Linked DNA regions of Homo sapiens: regions 2, 3, 4, 5, 6 and 7 are each linked to region 1. The links are contacts of gene promoters, found by promoter capture Hi-C in blood cells and fetal thymus (Javierre and others, 2016). All regions are on one chromosome and are shown on one strand. Each heading gives the region's core, a stretch centred on a gene start or on the middle of the fragment in contact. The rest is flanking DNA. Distances are from core to core; before and after follow the strand shown. Region 1 holds the start of KRT20 (keratin 20). Region 2 has its middle 3.4 kb from the start of EIF1. Region 3 holds the start of LOC124904004 (a long non-coding RNA gene). Region 4 has its middle 14 kb from the start of KRT17. Region 5 overlaps KRT17 (keratin 17). Region 6 has its middle 10 kb from the start of KRT16. Region 7 has its middle 7.6 kb from the start of LINC00974.

Evidence for each region. The method cuts DNA at HindIII sites, captures the fragments that hold promoters and counts their contacts. A CHiCAGO score of 5 or more calls a contact.
Region 2: a fragment that was not itself captured here is called in contact with the fragment with the promoter of KRT20 in region 1 in 3 of 17 cell types (naive CD4 T cells, total CD8 T cells and naive CD8 T cells); the score reaches 8.9 in naive CD4 T cells.
Region 3: a fragment that was not itself captured here is called in contact with the fragment with the promoter of KRT20 in region 1 in 15 of 17 cell types (activated CD4 T cells, naive CD4 T cells, total CD8 T cells and 12 more); the score reaches 22.2 in activated CD4 T cells.
Region 4: a contact is called between a fragment that was not itself captured here and the fragment with the promoter of KRT20 in region 1, in 14 of 17 cell types (activated CD4 T cells, naive CD8 T cells, total CD4 T cells and 11 more). The highest score is 20.3, in activated CD4 T cells.
Region 5: a fragment that was not itself captured here is called in contact with the fragment with the promoter of KRT20 in region 1 in 5 of 17 cell types (activated CD4 T cells, naive B cells, naive CD4 T cells and 2 more); the score reaches 8.1 in activated CD4 T cells.
Region 6: a contact is called between a fragment that was not itself captured here and the fragment with the promoter of KRT20 in region 1, in 2 of 17 cell types (total CD8 T cells and non-activated CD4 T cells). The highest score is 5.6, in total CD8 T cells.
Region 7: a contact is called between a fragment that was not itself captured here and the fragment with the promoter of KRT20 in region 1, in 13 of 17 cell types (non-activated CD4 T cells, total CD4 T cells, M1 macrophages and 10 more). The highest score is 14.6, in non-activated CD4 T cells.

The regions. Positions count from the first base shown.
Region 1 is chr17:40,883,516-40,886,951 of GRCh38, forward strand. KRT20 (keratin 20) reads right to left here and starts at 1,727. Exons shown (of 8, transcript NM_019010.3): 1 at 1,281-1,727. The coding sequence starts at 1,670. The region is part of intron 1 of LOC105371777 (a long non-coding RNA gene); the gene reads left to right. The HindIII fragment of the contact is 977 bases long and covers 1,649-2,625 here.
Region 2 is chr17:41,683,756-41,687,191 of GRCh38, forward strand. No RefSeq gene overlaps it. Among named protein-coding and RNA genes, the nearest start is that of EIF1, 3.4 kb to the right of the region's middle. The HindIII fragment of the contact is 6,365 bases long and covers 1-3,436 here.
Region 3 is chr17:41,653,825-41,657,260 of GRCh38, forward strand. LOC124904004 (a long non-coding RNA gene) reads right to left here and starts at 1,310. Exons shown (of 2, transcript XR_007065756.1): 1 at 1-1,310. RefSeq lists enhancers at 1-424, 425-1,121. The HindIII fragment of the contact is 2,956 bases long and covers 382-3,337 here.
Region 4 is chr17:41,637,136-41,640,571 of GRCh38, forward strand. It overlaps the pseudogene KRT42P. Among named protein-coding and RNA genes, the nearest start is that of KRT17, 14 kb to the left of the region's middle. The HindIII fragment of the contact is 3,640 bases long and covers 17-3,436 here.
Region 5 is chr17:41,618,699-41,622,134 of GRCh38, forward strand. KRT17 (keratin 17) reads right to left here. Exons shown (of 8, transcript NM_000422.3): 4 at 2,895-3,056; 5 at 2,268-2,393; 6 at 1,961-2,181; 7 at 1,838-1,860; 8 at 744-990. The coding sequence ends at 896. Among named protein-coding and RNA genes, the nearest start is that of KRT17, 4.2 kb to the right of the region's middle. The HindIII fragment of the contact is 2,565 bases long and covers 758-3,322 here.
Region 6 is chr17:41,600,754-41,604,189 of GRCh38, forward strand. No RefSeq gene overlaps it. Among named protein-coding and RNA genes, the nearest start is that of KRT16, 10 kb to the right of the region's middle. The HindIII fragment of the contact is 9,356 bases long and covers 1-3,436 here.
Region 7 is chr17:41,560,424-41,563,859 of GRCh38, forward strand. No RefSeq gene overlaps it. Among named protein-coding and RNA genes, the nearest start is that of LINC00974, 7.6 kb to the left of the region's middle. The HindIII fragment of the contact is 7,476 bases long and covers 1-3,436 here.

The DNA.
Region 1 (3,436 bases), core at 477-2,976:
CAGCACCTAGTTAGTGTTCATTCAGTATTGGCTGAATGAAAGAACATGATGCATGAAAGAACGAAATGCATGATGGAGGCATATAGATGAAAAATCTACTTGCAGAAGATGTTACAATGACATTTCTCTTTCAATGGACCCAGTTTTGGAGAGGGCTGCTTCCTATGGTTGGGACTGTCCAGCTCAATGGGACGGATGGCCTGTGCCTGTGTATTTCAGATGAACCAAACTAGAGTCAGAAACACGAGACAGGTGTGGTTCGAACATTTTTAGTGAGAGCTTGCGAAGGATGAACTTTATTCCGGAAGGGCTATTTAAATGCCATTGCTTCACATGCCCATAGTTTCTAAAATTCCAAAGTAACTTCCCATGGAGTCCGAATCAAATTGCCCTGATGTTTAGTACAACTCAAGAAAAACAGACTTGCTGGTAAGTAAATGCGCTTTGCTCTAAAGGAGTATGAATCTTAACACAAATTACAGTGAACACTTTTCTTAATTAGATAAGAACTTTAATTTGAAGCAAGTGCTCTGTGTCATATCTGAAATTTTCAATTAGGAGCAAAGTCTTCTGCTTTTATTCCATGAAACTGATAAAATACAGAGCTCCACCCTTTTTTTGATGACATAGGAGGAGGTTGTGATATGATTGTAATAAACATGAATTGGGGGCAATAGAACATTTTATTACTGTAGAAGTAGTTTCTGAACTGCTTGATGCTGATGGTCATGTTATTAAACAGGGCACTTAAAAATCCAGGCATCATTAAGACCCATATTCCTGCCACACTGTTTCCACCCAGAATCACTTTGCTATTTAAATCTGCAGTACAGTATTCTAATAGTCATATTATAACATTTACTTAAATAAAAGGAGAAAAGTCTTTGAATTTACTGGGGTTTCAAAACTTGATAAGGACTAGGTGAAAAACTAAGAGAGATTTATCACGTAATTAATTTTTAGCTCTTTTCAGAAAGATTGTTCACTATACATTTAGCCCTGATGTGATAAGCTGTGACAAAGATTCATTTTATTCCGGAGGATAAAATGTTCATATTTTGTATGTAATTGTGTTAAACATTAAAAATAGCATGATTTAAGGTCATCCTGTTGTACAGTCAGGTACTCCAGCACTAAAGGTAGATGAAAGAATTTTTATAGATGTAACATTTTAGCCTAATTTGCTTTACAAAGTCCATTTGGACCTACCTAACATAGATAACCTCTTGATTTATCTTGAAGCTAAACACAGAGTAGGAAACACAAGCATCATCTCTCACCTGACTTCGCAGCTCTTCAATTTGTCTGTAATATGCACTGTAGTCGCGACCAGCCCTCGGGGCGTTGGTTTCGTACCACTGCTTGATTTGCACTTCAAGTTTGGAGTTGGACTGCTCCAGGGTCCGCACCTTTTCTAGGTAGCTCGCTAGACGGTCATTTAGGTTCTGCATGGCCATTTTCTCATTGCCAACAAACAGGTCCCCGCCGCCTGTGAGATCGCTCCCATAGTTCACCGTGTGTCTGGAGTTGGAGATGCGGATGCCCCGGCCTCCAGCACCCCCATAAACGCTGGGTGTCGTCCCGAGGCGCTGCATGCCCACTGTACTGACTACAGGGGCCTGCAAGGAGGAGCTCAGGCTTCTGTGGAAGCTTCTGCGACTGAAATCCATTGGAGATTCCAGGAGGGAGCACCTGTAGCTTCAGGATGGTTGGGGCAGAGTGTGTCTCATGGAGGGTGTTGAGCTAGCCTTTTATGAAGTCCACAGGCAAGAAACTCCTCCTCTGCTGACATGTCACTAGGATTGGCACCACAGTCCACCTTGCCTTACTTCCACGCCCCCCGCTTTGTATAGCAATATGTTAATATGCTTAATTCAATTCCAGAAAATACCACTAGAGGCATTTCTTGGAGGCTTTTATCAGGGGCAACTTTTTTTTTTTTTTAATTAAACAGGTAATAAAAGGAAACAGGAAAGTGTATTCTTTTAGCCCATGCGCCTGCCTTGGCAGGTTTTTTTCATCCTAACATACACACAAAGAATATTTACAATCCTCATGTATAATTTAGGTATCTAAAAAGGCAGATGTGCCTACATAACTGAAAGTCACAATGGAGATAAAGGACAATGTTTGATTTGTATTGAGGAGTTGCTCTTCAGAACCTCTGTTTCATGCTTTGCTTGTGTTTGGCTTTTAAGTTTATTGTGTTTTGGACATCTTATTTTATAAGACTATTAAAATATTTTGTACAAACACAAAACCTCGAATCCCTAAACCAGGAATGAAACCATTGTACATTTGGAGATGTAGTTTGGGGATGTGAATTAAATGAATTTAGCTGAGTGATGGATTAGATGATTTGGGAGGTTATTTTCTTTCTATTTCTAATGTTCTATGACTAAATATTGCATTTTAGGTTTCCAGTCACCACCTGGCTTCAAGTCCTGTTACCAAGACACTTAGAATAAATCACACAGTGCTTTGTACCTGGCATGGTATCAGGATGGGTCTCCTCTTTTGTATGAGGCCAGCTTAACACCCACCATGAGACAGACTCTGCCCCATCCATCCTGAAGCTACTTACAGGTGCTCCTTCTAAAGTCCCCAGTGGATTTCAGTTGCAGAAGCTTCCATGGAAGCCTGATCTTCCTTGTATGCCCCCATAATCACAGCGAGAGTGGCTGTTTATATAGGAAGGGGTGCAGGCGGGGACTTGGGACTACACTCAGCTTCCAGGGTTGGGCTGGAGGCAGCTGCTTGTGTGTGGACCTCTAGACACATGGGCATGATCTCATCGGTGGGAATCTGATTGTAAGCAACCAATAAATGCCTGAGTCACTTGCTTCCCTTCATTCAAACCCCCTGGCTGAGAATTCACACTTCCCATGAAGCATGTAAATCACTTCCTTAGTTAATTAGATAATCACTAATTAATATAATTAGATAATCAGTTAATCACTTCCAAGTTAATTAGAAGGGATTGGAAAAGTCACTAAAAACATCTAATTAATTGTCATCCTGATACTTTAATGGAATTGAGATTTGTATATAATTAAGCAAGCAAGTAAATGCAAAAAAAATTGGAATTTAATTGTCTTATTTTAGTGGCTTATTTGTTGTTGCTGTTGTTCTGAAAGCCAGTCACTTAAAAAAAATTTTTTTTGAGTTTTTAGAAACCAGTGGCTTTTTTACTTTTGAGTTTAAATTTCTTTTACACACAACTTTCTTCTAAAATAAGGTCAGATCATATTATTTCTCTCTTATAAACAGTATACTTTAAAATAATACATTGTGTTTGATTTTATCTTAGTTATATCACAGAAATAAAAATTGAGATAAAATGGAATCTATTTTATGCATTTTATGGTATATGTGTGGGCAGCTCTTATATTTTTATCCATTCATGTATTCATCAGCCAATACTGAGTACTCACCA
Region 2 (3,436 bases), core at 477-2,976, 800 kb after region 1:
AGGTTTTCTAGAGCACCAGAGCTACAAGGAGCCCCTAGACCAGATCATCTATCTGCCTTGGTTACCATGGAGATGTCTATTTTCCCAGAGGGTGCAATCCCTTCCTGGAGGGAGATTCTGCTGCTTCCGTGCCACGTTGGTGGCCTTGGAGAATCTTATTGAGGTCGAGGGTCCCAAGGTGTCCTACACAGCCATGCCCTTGTCACATCCCAAGGAGATCACCATGGAGAGGTGCCCACCTCTGTCCCATCCTCATTCAGAGGGGCTCACTCCTGTCCCCTGCTGCTCTCGGAGGCTCTCTCTCTCCCTTCCCCTCTGGGAAACTGGTATAATCTATATAGTGGTTTCATAACTTTACATTTTTATCCGGCTGTACATAGTCTCCTCTTTAAATCCCCTCAACAGCCTATGAGAAGGGCATTATTGTCTCTGTCGTACAGAGGAGAAAATGCAGGCTGGGAGGGGCTAAGTCGCCCAGGCAACAAGATGGAGATGATATTCAGATACAGACACTCCAGAGCCTGTGCTTTGTACCCTGCCCTTGGCTGCCCAGGTGACAGCATCTCAAAGCCAGGAGCACACTAATAAAGAAGCCAGCATTAACAGCAGGCATGCATGCCACTTTCAAACTAATTACTCCTGCCTCCATGATTACTCCTCAGGCTCCTGGGGCTGGGGTAACCTCCCACACTGGAAGGTAGACTTCGGAAGACCCTTCTGGAAATGCTCCCAACTTGGGAAAACAGCGCTTCAGACTTCAGACCCAGGAAGAGATCACCCAGTGCTCCTTTTATGGGGCATACAACTGAAGCCAAGAGGTAAACCAGGTCACCCACAAAGCTGGTGGCAAGTCAAGAACTGAGTCTCAGGCCTGGTGCGGTGGCTCATGCTTGTAATCCCAGCACTTTGGGAGGCCGAGGTAAAGGATTACTTGAGCCTAGCAGTTCAAGACCAGCCTGGGCAACATAGTGAGACCTCATCTCTACCAAAAATTTAAAAAATTAGCTGGCTATGGTAGCACATGCCTGTAGTCCCAGCTACTCAGGAGGCTGAAACGGATCACTTGAGCCTAGGAGTTCAAGTCTGCAATAAGCTATAATGGCACCATTGCACTCCAGCCTAAGTGACAAAGCCAGACCCTGTCTCAAAAAAAAAAAAAAAAAAAGAACTGAGTCTTGGCCGGGTGTTGTGGCTCACACCTGTAATCCCAGCACTTTGGGAGGCCAAGGCGGGCGGATCATTTGAGGTCAGGAGTTCAAGACCAGCCTGGGCAATGTTGTAAAACCCCTTCTCTACCCAAAATACAAAAATTAGCTGGGCATGGTGGCACCTGCCCGTAATCTCAGTTACTTGGGAGGCTGAGGCAGAAGCATAGCTTGAACTCAGGAGGTGAAAGCTGTGGTGAGCCAAGATCGCACCACTTCACTACAGCCTGGACGACAAAGCGAGATTCTGTCTCAAAAAATATTTTAGTGTGACAAAATATTGCATGCACACTGGGAAGGACAGCTCCAATTCATTCATTCAAACTCTCTCCCAAAACCCTTTCCAGCAGAACAATGTCCGTCAGGGCAAAGTGTTGTGGGATGTCAGGGACTCCCAACAGAGGGACCCGCTGAAGCCATGGCAGAAGAACATAAATTGTGAAGATTTAATGGATATTTATTAGTTCCCCAAATTAATACTTTTATAATTTCTTACGCCTGTCTTTACTGCAATCTCTGAACATAAATTGTGAAGATTTCATGGACACTTATCACTTCCCCAATCAATACCCTTGGGATTTCCTATGCCTGTCTTTACTTTAATCTCTTAATCCTGTCATCATAAGCTGAGGAGGATGTATGTAGCCTCAGGACCGTGATGATTGCATTAACTGCACAAATTGTTTGTAGAGCTTGTGTGTTTGAACAATATGAAATCTGGGCACCTTGAAAAAAGAACAGGATAACAGCAATGTTCAGGGAACAAAGGAGATAACTTTAAACTCTGACTGCCCGTGAGCCGGGCAGAACAGAGCCATATTTCTCTTCTTTCAAAAGCAAATGGGAGAAATATCGCTGAATTCTTTTTCTCAGCAAGGAACATCCCTGAGAAAGAGGATGCGTCCCTGAGGGAGGCCTCTGAAATGGCCACTTTGGGGACAGCTGTCTTTTACGGTCATCGCTGAGGGATGAAATAAGCCCCGGTCTCCTGTAGCGCTCCCAGGCTTATTAGGACGAGGAAATTCCCGCCTAATAAATTTTGGTCAGACCGGTTGTCTGTTCTCAAACCCTGTCTCCTGATAAGATATCATCAATGACAATGTGTGTCTGAAACTTCATTAGCAATTTTAATTTCGCCCCGGTCCTGTGGTCCTGTGGTCTTGCCCTGCCTCCATTTGCCTTGTGATATCTTATTACCTTGTGAAGCACATGATCTCTGTGACCCACACCCTATTCGTACACTCCCTCCCCTTTTGAAAATCACTAATAAAAACTCGCTGGTTTTGCGGCTTGGGGGACATCATGGAACCTGCCGACATGTGATGTCTCCCCCGGACACCCAGCTTTAAAATTTCTCTCTTTTGTACTCTGTCCCTTTATTTCTCGGACCAGCCAACACTTAAGGAAAATAGAGAAGAACCTACGTGAAATGTCGGGGGTGAATTTTGCCTGATAGTAAAGGTTCCCAAGTTGGCTGACTGGGGCCTTAGCTTCTCAAAAGGGGAAGACCATGAGACTGGGATGCCCATGACCTAGCCATGGTTCCTCCTTCCTGATGTCAAGGAAACCAAACTATTAATCAAGTTTATTTAGTAAATATAGAATCAAAACAAAGTATCAGGCCAGGCACACTGGCTCCTGCCTGTAATCCCAGCACTTTAGGAGGCCAAGGCAGGGGGACTGCTTTAAGCAGTTGAGGCTGCAGTAAGCCATGATCATGCCACTGCATTCCAGCCAGTCTGGGTGACAGAGTGAGACCTTGTCTATATATATATATATATACACATACATATATATATACATATATACACAAATACACACACACACATATATACACACACTCATATACATATATATATATATACACACACATACACATATATATATCAGGTACACCTAGCATTTCCTCCCTCAGAGTTTTTCTGAGTTTTCTGGTGGGCACATGCCCTGCCCCACAGTGGACTCCTTCCTACCCTCTGTCAGCCAGAATGCTGCCTCCCCAGAGGCCTTCTCTGACCACCCCATCTGAAGGAGCCTGGCCCTTTCACATCACCCTGTTTACCTCCTTTTTGGCACCTCTCACAATCTGTCATTATCCTTTTTTTTTTTTTTTTGAGACATAGTCTTGCTCTGTCGCCCAGGCTGGAGTGCAATGGCGCCATCTTGGCTCACTGCAGTCTCCTCTTCCCGGGTTCAAATAATTATTGTGCCTCGGCCTCCCGAGTAGCTGG
Region 3 (3,436 bases), core at 610-3,109, 770 kb after region 1:
CCAAGCTGCTTAGGACAAAGGCATCCCTTAGAGGCTGGAGGCAGCAAACAGAACGTGTCCCTCTGCTGCTTCCTGGCCACTGCGGGGCCCTCACCACCACCTCAGCTCTCAGAACATCCTTCATTCTGCCCCCAGCATCTACTGAGCAATGACCAAGACCAAAGCTCCAAACCACAGACTGCCTGGGGCCTCGGCCTCCAGCTCTCCAACTGCAGAGGCAAGAGCAGAGTGTGAGGAGGGGGTGAGGAGTGGGCACCCCAATTGCCCTGGCCACTGTGGGAGCTTGGGCTCTAGCAGGCTGATCTCCCCCAGCCTGCACCCCACCCAGCAAGGACATGCAAGCCAAGCAGTTCCCACACCCCGTTCCTGGTGGCTGCCAGAAGCTTCCTTACAAGGCCCCAGCGCTGAGCTGGCTCAGCTGCAGGCGGGGGCCTGGGTGGGGCACAGCACACCTGGCTCAGCCAAGCCCAGACGCACCCTGCAAGTGAGGAATGCGGACGCCGCCCGGGCTGGCCCTGGGAAAGCTGCTGCCCTCGGCTCCTGCCCAGCCCTGACTCAGCCTAGGTGGGCCAGGGAAGCTGCAGCCTCAGCAGAACCAAGTCTCCCACCCCACCCTCCCCGCTGGCCTGCCTGGGATTGAACCAGGGGACAGGTCCTGGCAGGGGACTGAGAGTAGAGACAGCACCCCCTGGCCTCAGGACTTGGGGGAACAGCAGGGACTCTGTGGGACCTGCCCTTCTCCTGCACTGTCTGGAGGGTGCCAGCACAGCTCTGTCCGGGGGGGCTGCCCACAGCACATTTTCCCAGATGCCTGAGCCTCAGTTTCCTCATCCGTAAAAGGGGGCTAGTGACATTCCTGCCCACAGTGCAGGGCTGCAGTGGTGGAGGAGGTTCCCGGGAAGCATTTGAGAAGCAAACAGACCTCTTCCTAAGAAACAGAAGCGTCTGCCTAACCCCATGAGGCCAGGTGATCCCGTGCTCCATGCAGAAGAAACAGAAGCGTCTGCCCAGCCCCGTGAGGCCGGGTGGTCCCGTGCTCCATGCAGAGCAGGGTGACTCCATCATCCTCTGTCCCTGGCCCCAATACGGTTATTCCAAACTCCCCAGGACAAGGGCTGTGTCTCCCCCTCCGACTAGGCGGTCCCTGAAGGCTCGGGGCATGTCTCCCCTCAGACAAGAGGCTTCCCAGGGACAGAAACTCCATCCTCCTTGCTCCATCGCCCCACAGTCCCATGCCCTGCACTGCGGAAACCACAGGCCAGTGAAGGCCAGAAAAACTGCCCGTCCCCTCCTGGCGCCACCTTACCCCAGCCTCCCCAGGCCCTGACATCCACCTCCTTGCCCACCCAGCCAGCCCCCAAACGCGACGCTGGAGTGCCTCACGGTGCCCACCCAGACCCTGGGGATCAGGAGGCAGAGCCCCCCAGGTCTGGCGCTGGTAGAATCTCCCATCCCTCCCTGCCTGCAAAGAAAGGGCCCACTGGCCTCCCTCCCTGAGCCCTCCCACAGCTGGGCTGGCCAGAGAGAACTTTCTCCCTCTGCTCTCTTTCTCTGCTGTAGTTCAAGCACAGACCCTCTCACCCCAGCCAGCCCTTCTCCACCTTCCGGGCGCACAGTCTTAGGGGTGGAGCAGAGGCTGAGGTTGGGGGCCTCACAGTCAAAGGTGCTGAGACAACAGCCCCGCTGCCCTGTGCTCACTCAGAAGCTCCTGGGGAACTGGAGTGGAGGGGAAGGGTCCCCAAGCCCACAGGTTCTGGCTGCCCCTGCCACGTCCCCTCCCCCAGCCAGGCTTCTCCCAACTGCGGCAGGGCGTCTGGGCTCAGGTTGGGGTGCAGCGTTGGCAGGACAAACAGTCTCCAGTGTTGGGTGTTTGCCTCGGTTACCAAGGAGGGAGGTGAGGGGCCTGGCTCCCTGCCATGTTTGGGCCCCGGGCTGAAGGTGTGGGTGGCAGGGAAGGTGGAGGATTTGAGGTGGGGAGGCTCACTTCCCGCTCCCAGGGCTCGAGGGCAGGGCAAGCCAGCTGGGACTGCCAGATCCCTGGGCGGATTCAGACCTGCATCGGCCCTGCCTTTCTGCTGGCTCTGGGAAACTCAGTCAGGCAGGAGGAGACGCTGGGGGCGGGGCAGCCTCCCTTGCTGCTCAAAGCAGGGCTGTGGGCTGGAGGCTGGGCCCCGGCAAGTCAGGTACTGCCGTGGGTGTCCCAACCTTCCGGGACTGACGGCACCACGGCCTAACTCAGGCCGCCCGGGAGAGAGGCCTAGGAGCCCAGCTCTGGGCCCATGAATTTGGACAAGTCACCGCCCCTCTCTGGGCCCCAGTTTCCCCACCTATATAGTGTCAGGAGCTGGCCTGTGTAGTCCCACAGGGGCCTCCTTTGTTTTGTCCTCCCTGTCATGAGCTGGGCAGGTGGATGCTGAGGGGTTGAGGAGTTGGGCACTGAGCCGGGAGTTGTGACCCGGCCTTGAAGCCCTGGCTGGAAGGGCTCAGTACACATCCAGGCGGCCCTACTGCCCTGTCTGAGGCTGGCATGCAGTGAGTGCCCGGCTGAGTGCAGGAGCCCAGGGCTGTGGTCAGGAATGGCCGGGCCCTTTCTCCCTCTCTCAGCAATGATGAGAGCCACAGCCCAAGGAATCCCCTGCTGCCTCCTGCTCCCAGGTCTCCATCGCAGCCTCAGCATGACCGGCTCTGAGCAGGAAGTAGGGGAAGCAGGACAGAGGCTGGCCTGGCAGTCAGAGAGTGCACAGCCTGGCTCAGGAGGCTGGCAGGTCATCAGGGGCATAGAGCTGGCCCTCGTTGATGGGGCAGGGATGGCTTGGGGAGGGTGGAGACGCCGAGGCTTGAATTAGGGGGTGGGGGGTGCAGGTAGGGAAGAAAGGAAGAGGACTTGAGATTGTGACCAGGCAGTGCCACAAGGAACACAGGAGTGTGGGCCTTCCATGGGGAGGGAGGAAGGTGAGGCCAAAAGATGGCGGGGCAGGGGAAGGGACCACTTGCCTTGCAGCCCGGCCAGAGAGAGCGAGAATGAGCAGTTCCCACACCATGAAGACCTTTGCCCTGGCCCTGCTGGTGGCCCTGCTGTGCACAGAGAGACCCCAAGGTCTATGCTGCCACCAGTGCTTGGTGGCCCCAGCCTGGCACAGGCATGCCTGCCCCGCTGCCACATGCCCCTTCCCTGACAGGGTCTGCGTCTCGGGATATGAGAGACACAGGGAGTCTGGGTCCCTGTGGCATCTGGGAAAGTGAGAGTGGGGAACAGGCTCTGCCTCCTTTCCCTCCTGCCCCAAGAATGATACCATCATTTGGAATGTGGAGGTTCTGGACACCTCTATGAGTTCCAAGCTTTCTTGTTGCAAGAGAGGCCTCTGTAATGCGGGGGTCCTGGTGGCAGGCAGCACCTGGGCCCTTCCTTGGGACTCCTGCTCAGCCTGGGTCAGTT
Region 4 (3,436 bases), core at 587-3,086, 750 kb after region 1:
GGCTGGGAGAACTTGAAGCTTCCCCCAGTGCCCTGGGTGCCAGCCCCACCTTGACTCCCCCTCAGTCTCCTCTGCAGAGAGTGCAGAAAAGCCAGCATGCTGGAGAGCGCAGCACAGACAGGACCTGCCTGGAATTTGAGCAGAGCTAGGGTTTGGGGACAGTGTCCCCTAATATCACCCCTACTATGTTGTGGGGAGGCAGAGGGCGTAGAATGATCTGGGGCCCTATGGAAAGGAGATGTTCAATAGATGCATTTTTTTTTACTTTAAATAGAGATGGGGTCTCACTATATTACCCAGGCTGGTCTCAGGCTCCTGGGCTCAAGCAGTCCTCCTGCCTCTGCCTCCCAAAGTGCTGGGATTATAGGAGTGAGTCACCACGCCCAGCCAATAGATGCATATTGATATTGACAAGGTTGACAAGGTCTGGACAGGATCAGTGGCTCACACCTGTAATCCCAACACTTTGGGAGGCCGAGGCAGGCAGATCACTTGAGGTCAGGAATTTGAGACCAGCCTGGCCAACATGGTGAAACCCCGACTCTACTGAAAATACAAAAATAAGCCAGGCGTGGTAGTACCTGTAATCCCAGGTAGTCAGGAGGCTGAGGCAGGAGAATCGCTTGAACCCGGGAGGTGGAGGTTGCAGTGAGCTGAGATCGTCCCACAGCCCTCCAGCCTGGGCAACAGAGCGAGGCTCCATCTCAAAAAAACAAAAGAAAAAACAAAAAGACAAGGTCATGCCCCGTCTGCCCAGCTGGCCTTGGCTCCTACGAGCCCCCGCAAGGATTAACTGTCAACCCTTAGGATGGTGCCCACCCCATACCCCACACCCCTGCCCAGAACCAGCGCGGGCTGTATGCAGCAGGTGCTCTGTGAGTGCTTGCTGAATTGTTAGGGTCATGGAGCCTGAGCAGTGACTGGGGAGGAGACAAGGTCCCAGGAAAGGGACATGGCCACCTACCCTTCCCCTCAAGGAAAAGGGTCAGTATCAGGTGGTCAGGGAAAGTGAGAGGCCCTGGAGCCCAGAACGGGCTCCCAGCTGAGACCTTGGCTTCGCTGATGAGGAGAGAACCCCAGAGACCCTCATTCCACCCCTAGTCCCCTGTCACTAAGACCCACTGGGGTCCTTTCCATTCACCCCTCAGACACAGAGCCCCTGTCACCTGCAGGGCCCTTGGAGGTCACAGATCTCCTGCCCCTCGCTCACCCCCAGGCACTCCCACCCCTGGCCCAGCATCGCCTGAGAAGTGCACCCTCACCCAGCCACACCTGCCGCCTCCACAGGTGGAATCCTGCTTCCTCTATTCTGTTTCCTGCCTCTATCCTGAGGCCCCAGGCGGCCCCACCCAGATCCTCCCACCCTCCACCTTCCCAGGGCCCTGGGAGATTCGGAACATTGCTGGGTGCCCTGAGCCTCTGCCCCAGTTTGAAGAGACAGAGGTAAGGGGATCCCCCAGCACCCCCTGTATACCCAGGGCTTGGCCAGGGGCTCCCCTACCCAGGGGTAAGTGGACCCAGCCTTTCTTCCCCTCTGCACCCCTCACTCACCTCTGACTGGTTTCCAGGAACTGTCAGCCTGTGGCGGATCCAAGACGTAGGATACGGACACCCAGGAACACCCCACCCTTCCAGGCAGCACATCAGCTGTCCAGGGGCCCTTCCCAAAAGAGGGCCTAGAGGACTGAATGCCTCGGATGAGGCCCAGGGCGGGAGGACAGAGCAAGGGAGGGAGGGAGGGAAGGCTGGGGACCAGTGGGAATGAGTGGGGAGGACATCACGGACAGGAAACCCAGGCCTCGGGGGTCACCCGTGGGACACCTCACTGCCTCTCACAGGGTGAAGACTCCTGTGAGAGGAGTCTTGACCAGACGGCTTCGTCCCTCTGTCCTTCCCTCTGTCTTTCCCTCCCTCTGCCCTTCCCTCCCTCTTTTTCCTCCCTCTTTTCACTTCCCCCACCGCTTCCTTGGCCTGAGAGATGCATAGGGGTGAGTGAGAGGCAGAAACTCCAGTGGGTTCCCCTTTCAGGCTCACACCCCCTCTCCACTCTGCCCTGCAGCCTGGCTGAGGGCAACCTGAGGGCCTGGGGAAATGGGAGTCAGAGACACCAAGGGGACTCCAGGCTCCTTCCCACCCTGCAGACCCCAAACCCCCAGCTGCACCTCCCTCCCCGACCCAGCTACCAGCTCGCTCCTCCCTCCCTGCGCCCTGGGGAGGCTGGTTTCTCCCTGTTGATGAGCGCTCATTCGCGCCTGCTCTGCAATGCTCTTGAGTGGCTTTCTCCAGGGGCAGATGAGGCCAGGCTCCCCAAAACAGAGACTGTGTCTCTTCCCTTAAATTGGACACTTCCTCAAGGTAGCAGCCATGTCTCCCCCTCAGATTGGGGGCTCCCTTGACATAGGAGCTCTTTCTCCCTGATGTGAAGGGGGTCTCTCAACTCCTTGTCCTGGTGTTGACCACCCAGCCCACCACAGTGTGACACACCTGACTGACCAACAAGGGAGGAGAAGCAGGGCAGGGAGCACTGAGGGAGGAGGACCAGGGCAGGGAGGACTGCTGGAGGAGGAAGAGGGGACGGAGGACTAGGTAGGTAAGACCAGCGGAAGGAGGACCAGGGGAAGGGCATGAGGAGAGGGAGGACTAGGGTAGGAAGACCAGGGGAAAGAGGACCAGGGGAGGAGGACTGGGGGAGGGAGGACCAGCAGAGGAAGGGCTATGGGAGAAGAACCAAGGGAGAGAGGACTAGGGGAGGGAGGACCAGGGAACGAGGACCAGAGCAAGCCATCATCTATCCTTTCCAAGGGCAAAACAGGAGAACAGGGCAGGAGCATTCCTTTGCAGAGGCCTGGGCTCCATGGAGTGTTCTGCCTGAGCCCCAGCCCGCCATACAGGCCTGCTTCCTCCATCCAGGAAGCTGAGCTGCCCTCCAGCCAGCCAGGAGCAAGCTCCCTCCACTAAACTCCTGCAGCACTGTGGTCCCTGCCATCTCTGCCTCAGAACCCAGGGTCCCTGGGAGCCTTGTTATTGAGTGTTTCTGGTTGACGCACTTTTTTCAGCAAAGTTTCATGGAGAGGGACCAGAGTTTCTAATCTTCACAACCACAGGGTCAGGCATTGTGTTAGCTATGATCACACTCTATGATGTCATGCAAAGAGCTCCAAGTCCAAGAACCTGGGGTCAAATCTGGACTCTTGCCCAACTTGGGCAAGTCATTTTTCTTCTTTTAGGCTCAAACCCTCCTCCTCTGCAGAATGAAAGGACTAGACTTTTTTTTTTTTTTTTGAGACGGAGTTTCACTCTTGTTGCCCAGGCTGGAGTGCAATGGCTTGATCTCGGCTCACTGCAACCTCCGCCTCCTGGGTTCAAGCGACTCTCCTGCCTCAGTCTCCAGAGTAGCTGGGATTACAAGTGCCCACCACCGCGCCCAGCTAATTTT
Region 5 (3,436 bases), core at 790-3,289, 740 kb after region 1:
CTGCAGTGCCCCCCCACTCCACCCCGTCCCCATCCCGAGCAACAGCTGACCATGTGAGGAAGCATCCCTGAGAGAGGCCCCACCCTTTCTCCCACACCTGCCTGGGGTCCGTAGCCTTCCCTGAAAACGCCAGCCTCCCACTCACATTCCCAGGGCGGAGGCAATGGGGGCCTCTCTTGGGGATTTCCTGAGACTCACACAGGAGTCTGGGCCCCAACCACCCAGCCTGCCTCCCCCACCCACCCTCCCTTTGTGCTTATCCCAGCCCTTGCCCACCTCCTGCCCCATCTAGGGGTAGGGCACGGCCCACAGGACCGGGAGGAACAACTGATTGAGTGAGTCATCTCTGAGGATTCAGGCTCCCACACCTGAGATCTTCCCATCCGTTTATGGATGAGAAAGCAAGGCTCAGTGAGGGGAAGTGACTGCCTAACTTCTCGAGGTCACAGAGCTACTCACAGGGCAAGCAGTGGCCACCTAGGACCGCACCTGATACACCAACTCCACCCCAGGTCTAGCGCAGCCTGGACCACCCCCTGAAAATCTCCAGCCCTTGGGAGAGGCAAGCACCCCCTTCCAAACTCTCCCCAGACTTACTCTTTATGCCGGTCTAAGCTGACCCCTGACCTGCCAATCAACAACGGTGGGTCTCCAAGCACCATCTCCCCTCACCCTCACTCCTTCCCATTTCACCCTTTTGTCCCTAGTCCCCACTTCAGGGGCCAGAACAAGGACACATTTCATAGCTGAGTCAACAAGCTTTATTGTCATCAGGCAAGGAAGCATGGGGAAGGGACTGAAGCAGGGGGCTGAGGCTGGAGAGGCCGGAGACTGTGGGGCAGATGGGGCGGCTGCCTCCCTGCCTCCTGGGTGGCCGGCCGGGGTAGCTGAGTCCTCAGCGGGTGGTCTGGTGGACCTGCTCGCGGGAGGAGATGACCTTGCCATCCTGGACCTCTTCCACAATGGTACGCACCTGACGGGTGGTCACCGCTGCAGGAGAAGCAGGCAATTTAAAGTGGGTAGGGGCCAGGAGGCCCTCGCTTGCCCCCTAGCCCTCATGGACAGGAGCCGGCTCTCTCCCTCATCCTCCCCCAGGTGCTGTGAGTGCCTCCACTGGCACCTCGACATCACACTGCACACACATCCCTCCTGTCCCTGCCACCACCTCCCTTCCATCCCATCCCTCTGCCGGTGGCCCTGTGTGAGTCTTGCCTCCCCAGATGGGTTATTTGATTCTGATCCAGTGTGTCCTGCCAGGGAGGAGCCATGTAGACTCCATGAAATCCGTCTCCATTTCTCTGCAGTCTCTAGGACATAGATTTTCTACCATCTCCCCCATCAGACTGGGATCGCCAAGACAAAAACCAGGCCCCTATCTCCTCCATTAGACTAGGAACCCTAAGGCTAGGATCATATATTCTCCATCAGATTGGAATTTGGAGGACAAGGACCATGTCCCTATCTCCCATCAGGCTACAGACCCCAGAGACAGGACTGTTTTTGCTCATCCAAAAGCTGTCAAGAGCAAAGATCATGAGACCATGTTCCTATCTTCCCATCAGATGACAATCTCCAGAGCTGGGACCTGTCTCCTCCATCAGACTAGGATCTCCAAGGTAAGGACCAGTTCCCTGCCCCACCCCCATCAGACCAGACAGTGTCTCTCTCATTTGATCTTTTCCTGAGTATCAATCCTCAGTGCTAATGAGTCACTTCTCCCTGCTGAGGGACAGCCATCAACTCCTGGAGCTCCTGGGGACCCTGCCCCAGCAACGTGCAGGTGGGCTGCCTGTCCCATGCACCCAACCCCCAGGGCCGAAGCCACGCAGATACTTACGTTCTTTCTTGTACTGAGTCAGGCTGAAAGAAAAAAAAAAACAGAGAGGAAATTAGATGTGGGTCTGAGAGCCCCACCCCTGCCAAGAGACCCCCAGCCCTGACCCCAGGCGCCCCCACTCACTGGGCATCCTCTCCCTCCAGCAGGCGGCGGTAGGTGGCAATCTCCTGCTCCAGCCGCGTCTTCACATCCAGCAGGATTTTGTATTCCTGGTTCTGCTGCTCCATCTCGCAGCGAAGCTGGGCCAGCTGCTCCTCCACGCTGCCAATCAGCCCCTGGATCTGGGACAGCTGCACGCAGTAGCGGTTCTCTGTCTCCGCCAGGTTGCCCTCCAGGGATGCTTTCTGCAGGAGGGCAGGAAGACCAGGGGTCAGTGAGGATGGTCAATGCCCTCTTCTGGGCCCTCCCCCATGCACAGGACTGTTCCTACCATGCTGAGCTGGGACTGCAGCTCTATCTCCAAGGCCTGCATGGTGCGCCGGAGCTCCGAGATCTCACTCTTGCCACTCTGCACCAGCTCACTGTTGGTGGCCACCTCGCGGTTCAGTTCCTCTGTCTGCAGACAGGACACAGGACAGGGCGGTGTGAGCCTGGATCCCTCTCCCAAGTCAGGCCTCCTCCCAAATCTAACTGTGGAGAGAGTGTGCCTTCTCACCAGCTTCCCACATCCCAAAGCCCAGAAACATGCCATTTGAAATGTTAACTTTTTATGGTTAATCCCAGCGTGTGGGAGGCACAGACCGGAAACTTGAGAACAAGCCAGAACATGTAGCCTGGCTCTTGATGCTAGTTCCTGACTTCTTGAGGGAGACGTGGGGACTCCCAAGGTCTTTACCCTCTGCCTTTATTCTGAGGGAGCTCCCTACCTCCCCACCCACCCGCCAGATCCCAGCTTGAGCTCAGCTCCATGTCTGTTGATGCAGTGGGTGACCCTGTGGTCCATGCAGCTTACTGAGGAGGGGCACCTCCAAGACATCTGGCCGTGGGCTTACTGTCAGTGCTAAGGCCCCTGAGCCCCAGCCCCTAAGAGAGCCCTCTGGCCTGCAGCACCCCCCACCTTGCTGAAGAACCAATCCTCGGCATCCTTGCGGTTCTTCTCTGCCATCTTCTCATACTGGTCACGCATCTCGTTGAGGATGCGGCTCAGGTCCACGCCTGGGGCAGCGTCCATCTCCACATTGATCTCACCACCCACCTGGCCTCGCAGGGCGTTCATCTCCTATGGAAAAAGGGGATGTGGATGTGCGCATCTGGACCCATCCTGACCTCTCACTCCCAAGCCTTCCCCCACAAGGGGACCCCACTTCCCACAAGGACCCCTCCTTTGTTCTCCCTCTGCTCTATCTGACCCTCTAAATGATTTTTATTCATCTGCTCAGTATTGCCTCCACCATCAGACTCTATCTCCCCCATTAGACCAAGGACTCTCCAAAATAAAATCTAATTATTAGGCCTATGCCCCCAAAAGTTCCCCTCTAATTTCCAAGCTTCTATGTAGATGTTCAGCTTTGAGAGTTTGAAATGGGACAAGATTTCCTTACTTATCCCCCACCCTCATGAGGGAGGCAGGGTAGGTAGAGGGAGCCTCTGCAGGCCCCT
Region 6 (3,436 bases), core at 295-2,794, 720 kb after region 1:
CTCCTGCAAAGGACTGTGATCTGATCTTTTTAAAAAATGTTTTCTCTTGGTTATCAGTTTTAATTTGTATAGTTATATTATTATCTAAGCATAAAGTAAATTAAAAATCTATTTTATGATCACATAAAATTGACAGGCCAGAATATTAGTGCATGCAATCTGTTTCTAATTAGGAAGTCGATGTGGTATTCAACAAATTAATTGATTCTTTGGTTCTTAAATTGTTGTTTAGTTTCTTTATTCATATACACACACACACACAATTTTATGCACATGTATTAAAATGTGTGTGCACTCTTTTTGTTCCTTTCCTGTTTTTCTTGGCTCCCCTTTTCCCCTCAACCACTGCCACCCACATCAGCCTTCAACCCCACCCCCACAGTAATCTATGTTCATAACTCTGTATGTATCTTTTCATATTGTTGGTGCTTATATAATCTCACAGACACATGCACATGCATTTACATAAATGAGGGATGAGGGGTTGGCTGTTTATTTCACATAAGTGAAATCAATATCCTACATGTACATTTCTGCATTCCACATTTCTCTCTCTCCAATCCCTGGAGGAATCCCTCCTTGCCATCCAATAAATAGCTCCAATTTATTGACTATAATGGCTGCTTAATACTCCAGGGTAGCAGTGGACCATTATTTATTCCACCTGTCCACTATCAACTTTTAAAAATGTGTTTGCCACCTTCTGTCACTACAAATAAACAGCAGTAAATATCTTTGCACATATGCCTTTTTATACTGGTCTGTTATTTCTATTAATTTAAAATTAAGTGAAGTCCCTTAAATAATTTGAAAGTCATCTTTGCTGTATAATCACATATAACAAAGCTGGAAAAGAACCTGGTAGAATAAAAGGTCTGGTGACAGAACAATGGATGAGTGTTTTCATTTTCTATATTTCCTTTTGTTTCGTCACACTATTCATATGGTAGATAAAAGCTAGAGACGTATGGGATTTTTTCTGTTGTTTTTTGTTGTTGTTGTTTGAGACAGGGTCTCACTCTGTCACCCAGGCTAGAGTGCAGTGGCACACTCTCGGCTCACTGCAACCTCCACCTCCTTGATTCAAGCGATTCTCCCACCTCAGCCTCCCAAGTAGTGGGGCTATGGGCACGCACCACCACGCCTGTCTAATTTTTGTATTTTTTGGTAGAGATGGAGTTTCACCATGTTGGCCAGACTGCTCTCAAACACCTGACCTGAGGTGATCCTCCCTCCTAGGCCTCCCAAAGTGCTGGGATTACAGGCGTGAGCCACAGCACCAGGCCGACGCATGAGTTTTATGTGTAACAATCCTAACATGGTAGGAGAAAGAGGGACCCTTGCAATCAACAGTGTGTTAACTAGGGGTGAAGTCAGAAATGGCGTCTCCTGGATAGCTGCCACTATTGCTTTAACACCCCTTGATCTGCTCAAAGCCCTTCGGGGGTCTTGGACTGTTGGGGATTCCAGGATGCAGACAGCACATCAGAGGAGGGGCCAGATAAGGAGCTCCACTGCCTCATGCCTCAGTTCTGTAGATGGGGCTCCATCCCTCCAGGGCTCAAGAAGATATTTGCTTTCACATCCATGCCAGCTTGTCAATACCTACCCATGGAGACCTCCCTGTGCCAACACAATGAGAAGCACATGGAACCCAGAGAAGCCTGCCCTCAAGAAATTCTTCTGAGCAAGTTCTGTGGAGTCCTGAAAGAGCAGAGACTTCTAAACCAAACCTCCACGGCCTGACTCCACAAGTCTTTACTGAGTGTCCTTTATGGGCTGGGTACCATCCAGGGGCTGTTGGTAACTAGCAAAACAAAAGTTTCATTACTGTTTATGTTTCGGGGAGCAGACAGAAGGTCTTAAACAACAAGCTACAGCAGTGAAAAGACAAGCACAAGAAATTGCTTATCTCATACACTAGGAGGGACACTGAGCTTATTAGAGCTCTCAGAAACAATGGACCCAAAGAAAGCAGAGCTTTACAAGCATACCACTCATTCATTTACAACAGCAGATGCACTTTATGGGCTGCCATTAATTCTCACTCTAGTCATTGTTTTTGCACCTCATGCAATTATCTAAAACAATATTTGCCGAACTTTGACAGTAAGTCAAGCATAAGGAATCTGAAGGTACCTTCAAATTAGACAGATTTCAAGGAACACTGGGAGTTCTCAACCTTCTCAGCTCAGGTGCCAGGATCTTAGGAAGTGGGAAAGACCAGGCAAGAGCAAAAGGCAGTCTGATTTGGGGCTTGAATCATAGTTTGAGAAATCCAGGCAGCAAGCCATTTCCAGATGGAAATTCTGGTTCCCTTATTGAAGGGAAAACTCATATTTCTGCACAATATTGTCCTTCTGTTTAAAAGGGGCTCATGATTTGTTTCTACAAGATAACAGCAATGAAGAAGAGATAAGTGATTTCTGCTCTCCGGGAGTTTTGCTAAGTGACTGTGAGACCCCAAGAAAGTTTTTTTTTTAATTTTCCTTTAACTACTGTAAACCTGAATTTCTGCATCTGTCAGGTAGAGGCCTTTCGTGATGAGCTTTCCAAGGATCTGCTCCTGGGGGTTAGGCACTCGGAAGATACGGGTACAGACAACTTCTTTAAAATAGCACCCATGCCCAGGCTGGGCATGGTGGCTTACGCCTGTAATCCCAGCACTCTGGGAGGCCAAGGCAGGCAGATCACTTGAGGCCAGGAGTTTGAGACTAGTCTGGCCAACATGGTGAAATCCTGTCTCTACTAAAAATACAAAAAAAAAAAAAAAAAATTAGCTGAGTGTGGTGGCACACACCTGTAGTCCCAGCTACTCAGGAGGCTGAGGTATGAGAATTGCTTGAACCTGGGAAACAAAGGTTGCAGTGAGCTGAGATCGCACCATTGCATTCCAGCCTGGGTGACAGTGAGACTTTGTCTCAAAAAATAAATAAATAAATAAATAAAATAAAATAAAATAGCACCGCATGCCCAGTTGGAGGGTATTCTACATCCTCTGTTCTGACATCTCATTAATGAACAACTCATGAAAGTGTGTGCCAGCCCAGGAGTTGTTTAGTAACCCAGGCCAGGACTATGTCTCTGTGTAAGGGTCCTTCCACAACATCATCTTTAAAAGAATCAGCTGAATCAATTTACCAAAGAGGTTTTTAAAGATAATACTCACAGTTGATGAGCATGTTTTGAAATAGGCACTCCCATTCCCTGCTGGCAAGATATGCAAATTGGCACAATTTCTCTTTAAATCAATTTGGCCATTCAAATCGAGAATCTTAAAACATCTGTATCTTCTCATCTAGTATACATCTAGGAATCTAGCCTAAGGAAATAATCAAAAATATTTGTGGGAGCTGAGGCAGGAGAATCGCTTGAACTCGGGCAGCAGAGGTTGCAGTGAGCCAAGATCATGACATTGCACTATCCAGCCTGGGCG
Region 7 (3,436 bases), core at 443-2,942, 680 kb after region 1:
GGAAGTAGGTGAGGAAATGAGGTTCACCTGGGACATCCAGCTTACTGGTATGGACAGCAGAAGCAGCGTGGCTCTGCAACTCCAGCTGAGTCCAGAATTAGTGCAGAATGGACTCAGAAGGCTCCAATCTGACTTGGTGGTTTCATGGTCTTGGCAGAGGCAACAACTCCTTTGGCAGATCCACTCTGCTTTGTCATTTGGAGGGTTCTGGAAAAATCACCCTAGATTCTGTTTCTCCAGCCCTCCTAATGATTCTCTAAGGTATCTAGAGCTCTTGAAAATCCCTTACTTGTTAAAATAGGCAAAGTAGTTTCTGGTAGTTGCAATTGAGAATCTAACCAATATAGAGATCAGATGACAAATGGAGTTTTAGCCCAAGTTTGCTTCTCATGAGCCCAGTGGTATCCCAGACCAATCCTGTGGTTATTTCCCAGTGTCTGGAGTGGACTAGACATAGTCAGTAAAAGGATCCTGATCCTTACCAGTAAGGATTACGTGGTTTAGAAAAAGGACCAGCAACACTACATCTCTAAGGGAATGACAGAGATTAGTGCCACATGAAAGATTTGATGGGCCAGGAGTGGTGGCTCATGCCTGTAATCCCTGCACTTTGGAAGGGCAAGATGGGGAGAGAACACAGGAATGTAAGATCAGCCCTGGCAATAGAGTGAGATCCCTGTCTCTAGTTTAAAAAAAAAAAAAAAAAAAAAAAAAACCTCAAAAATTAGTCTGGCGTGGTGGCACACGCTTGTAGTCCCAGCTACTTGGGAGCCTGAGGTAGGAGGATTGCTTGAACCTGGGAGGTCAAGGCTTCAGTGAACTGTGATTGTACCACTGCCCACCGGCCTGGGCAACAGAGAGAGACCCTGTCTCAAAAAAAAAATGATAAATTTAGGGTTAACTTGCCTAGTTTTTCTGTGCAGAACATGAACAGATGTTAGAGAATAGCCATGAATTATTTTACAATTTATCACATGGTTGTTCCAACAGCAGTCGTTGATCCAGATTGTGTCCCTTTTCTAAAGCAGATCACCATTGACCCTGGCACCTGCTGTGGGAAATTCTTTTTTCTTTATCCCAATAAACAAAGAGTACCAGAATAAATATGCTTTCACCTGCAGAGAAAGCAACACGGTCATTCCCCTTATCCATGGTTTCGCTTTCCACAGCTTCAGTTACCTGTGGTCAACTGTCATCCAAAAATATTAAATGGAAAATTCCAGAAATAAACAATTTGTCAGTTTTGAAGTGTGCTGCCCTGAAGAGCATGATGAAATCTCACACTGCCCCACTCTGTCCAGCCCAGGACAGGAATCATCCCTTTGTCCAGCTCTCCATGCTCTATGCACCACCCACCCACTAGTCGTCGCTTAGTAGCTGTCTCAGTTGTCAGATCAACTGTTGCAGTATTGCCGTGCTTGTGTTCCCTTATTTTACTTAATTACGACCCCAAAGTGCAAGAGCAGTGATGCTGATAATTCAGATTTGCCAAAGGGAAGCCACAAAGTGCTTTTTTTTTTTTCTTAAAAGGAGTTTTGCTCTTGTTTCCCAGGCTGGAGCACAATGGCGTGATCTCGGTTTACCTCAACCTCTGCCTCCCGGGTTCAAGCGATTCTCCTGCCTCAGCCTCCCAAGTACCTGAGATTACAGGCATGCGCCACCATGCCTGGCTAATTTTGTATTTTTGGAAGAGACAGTGTTTCTCCATACTGGTCAGGCTGGTCTCAAACTCCTGACCTCAGGTGATCCTCCAGCCTTGGCCTCCCAAAGTGCTGGGATCACAGGCATGAGCCACCGCGCCCAGCCAGCAAAATGCTTTCTTTAAGAGAAAAGATGACAGTTCAAAACTTACTACGGAAAGAAAAAAACCATACGCTGAGGTTGCTAAGATCTACAGTATGATAAGATATTTTGAAAGAGAGAGACCACATTCAAATAATTTTTATTACAGTATATTGTTATAACGATTCTATTTTATTAGTTATTGTTGTTAATCTCTTGGTCTGCCTAATTTATAAAGTAAACTGTATCTTAAGTATGAATGTGTAGGAAAAAGCATAGTGTAGATAGATTTAGGTGCTATCCACAGTTTTGGGCATCCAGTCAGGATCTTTGAATGTATTCCCTGTGAAATAATGAGCAACTACTGGGCATCTTTTCCAGGATGTGCAGAGAATCAAACTTGGAGGGTATGCAAACAGAAAAATTCCCCAAATCACACTCAAGGATTGCTCTAGGAACACACCACTGCTGTCACTTCTGGCCACCAAAATTGAAGCTCAAACTATGGATGATGGGCACTGCATGTCTTTGCCAGAGCCGCTGCTATTGCTTCCTCAAAAAATCACATATCTCTGCCCAACCTTGTTCCTGCCATAAAAAATTCCACTCAGCACCTCCTTTAAATCAAAATCAAAGTCCTTCACTCCAATGGGGTGCCATGGTTAAAAAAAAAAAAAAAACGTCTTGTGCGGGCGCACCTGAGTGGCAGGGCTGTCAGGGGCCCATGCCCTAGATGCAGGTGAGCTCGGAAAAGCAAGTTTCTGACCTCTCCCTTGGGGAGCTTCACACTTAAGGTGGAGAATTTCCCAAATTGAGGTAGAGAAAAGATACATAAAATGGGCCAGGCCTTGTGGCTCACACCTGTAATCCCAGCACTTTGGGAGGCCGAGGCAAGTGGATCACCTGAGATCAAGAGTTCAAGACCAGTCTGGCCAACATGGTGAAACCCCCGTCTTTACTAAAAATACAAAAATTAGCTCAGCGTGGTGGCAGGTGCCTGTAGTTCCAGCTACTCAGGAGACTGAGGCAGAAAATCGCTTGAACCCGGGAGGTAGAGGTTGGATTGAGCTGAGATCGTGCCACTGCATTTCAGCCTGGACGACAGAGTGAGACTCCGTCTCAAAAAATAATAATAATAATAAATAAAATAAATAAAAAGATATGTAAAATGGTAGATGAGGAAGACAGCAGGTAGCAGAAAAAGAACCAGAGAAGAGTAAACAGTTGCATATTAACAGCGGAGCGCTAGAAAAGAGATCACAGACTCTCACTGCTCAGGTGTCTTGCTAGAGCCACCTTTGACCCAGAGACACTGATGACCTGCCTGCTCCCATATCCACAAATTCCAGGATCTTGAATCCCCCTGGGTTTCTGTGTCACTTCATTCCCTAAGTGTACTCTTACATAACCCCTCTGCCAGTGATTTGAGCCAGCCTGTGGCAATTTGTGTTTTCCAAAAATGACCACATCAATATATCCCATTGCATATGCTGTTCTTCAACGTGACATGGACACACCTCCATCTAGAGACGGGGTCTGTATTTGCTTTCTATTTCTGCTTAACAAATTACTGCAAACTCAGCAGCTTAAAATAGCACCCATGTATTAGCTGACAGTTCCACAGGCGTAATTGGATTCTCTCTGCAGGATATCA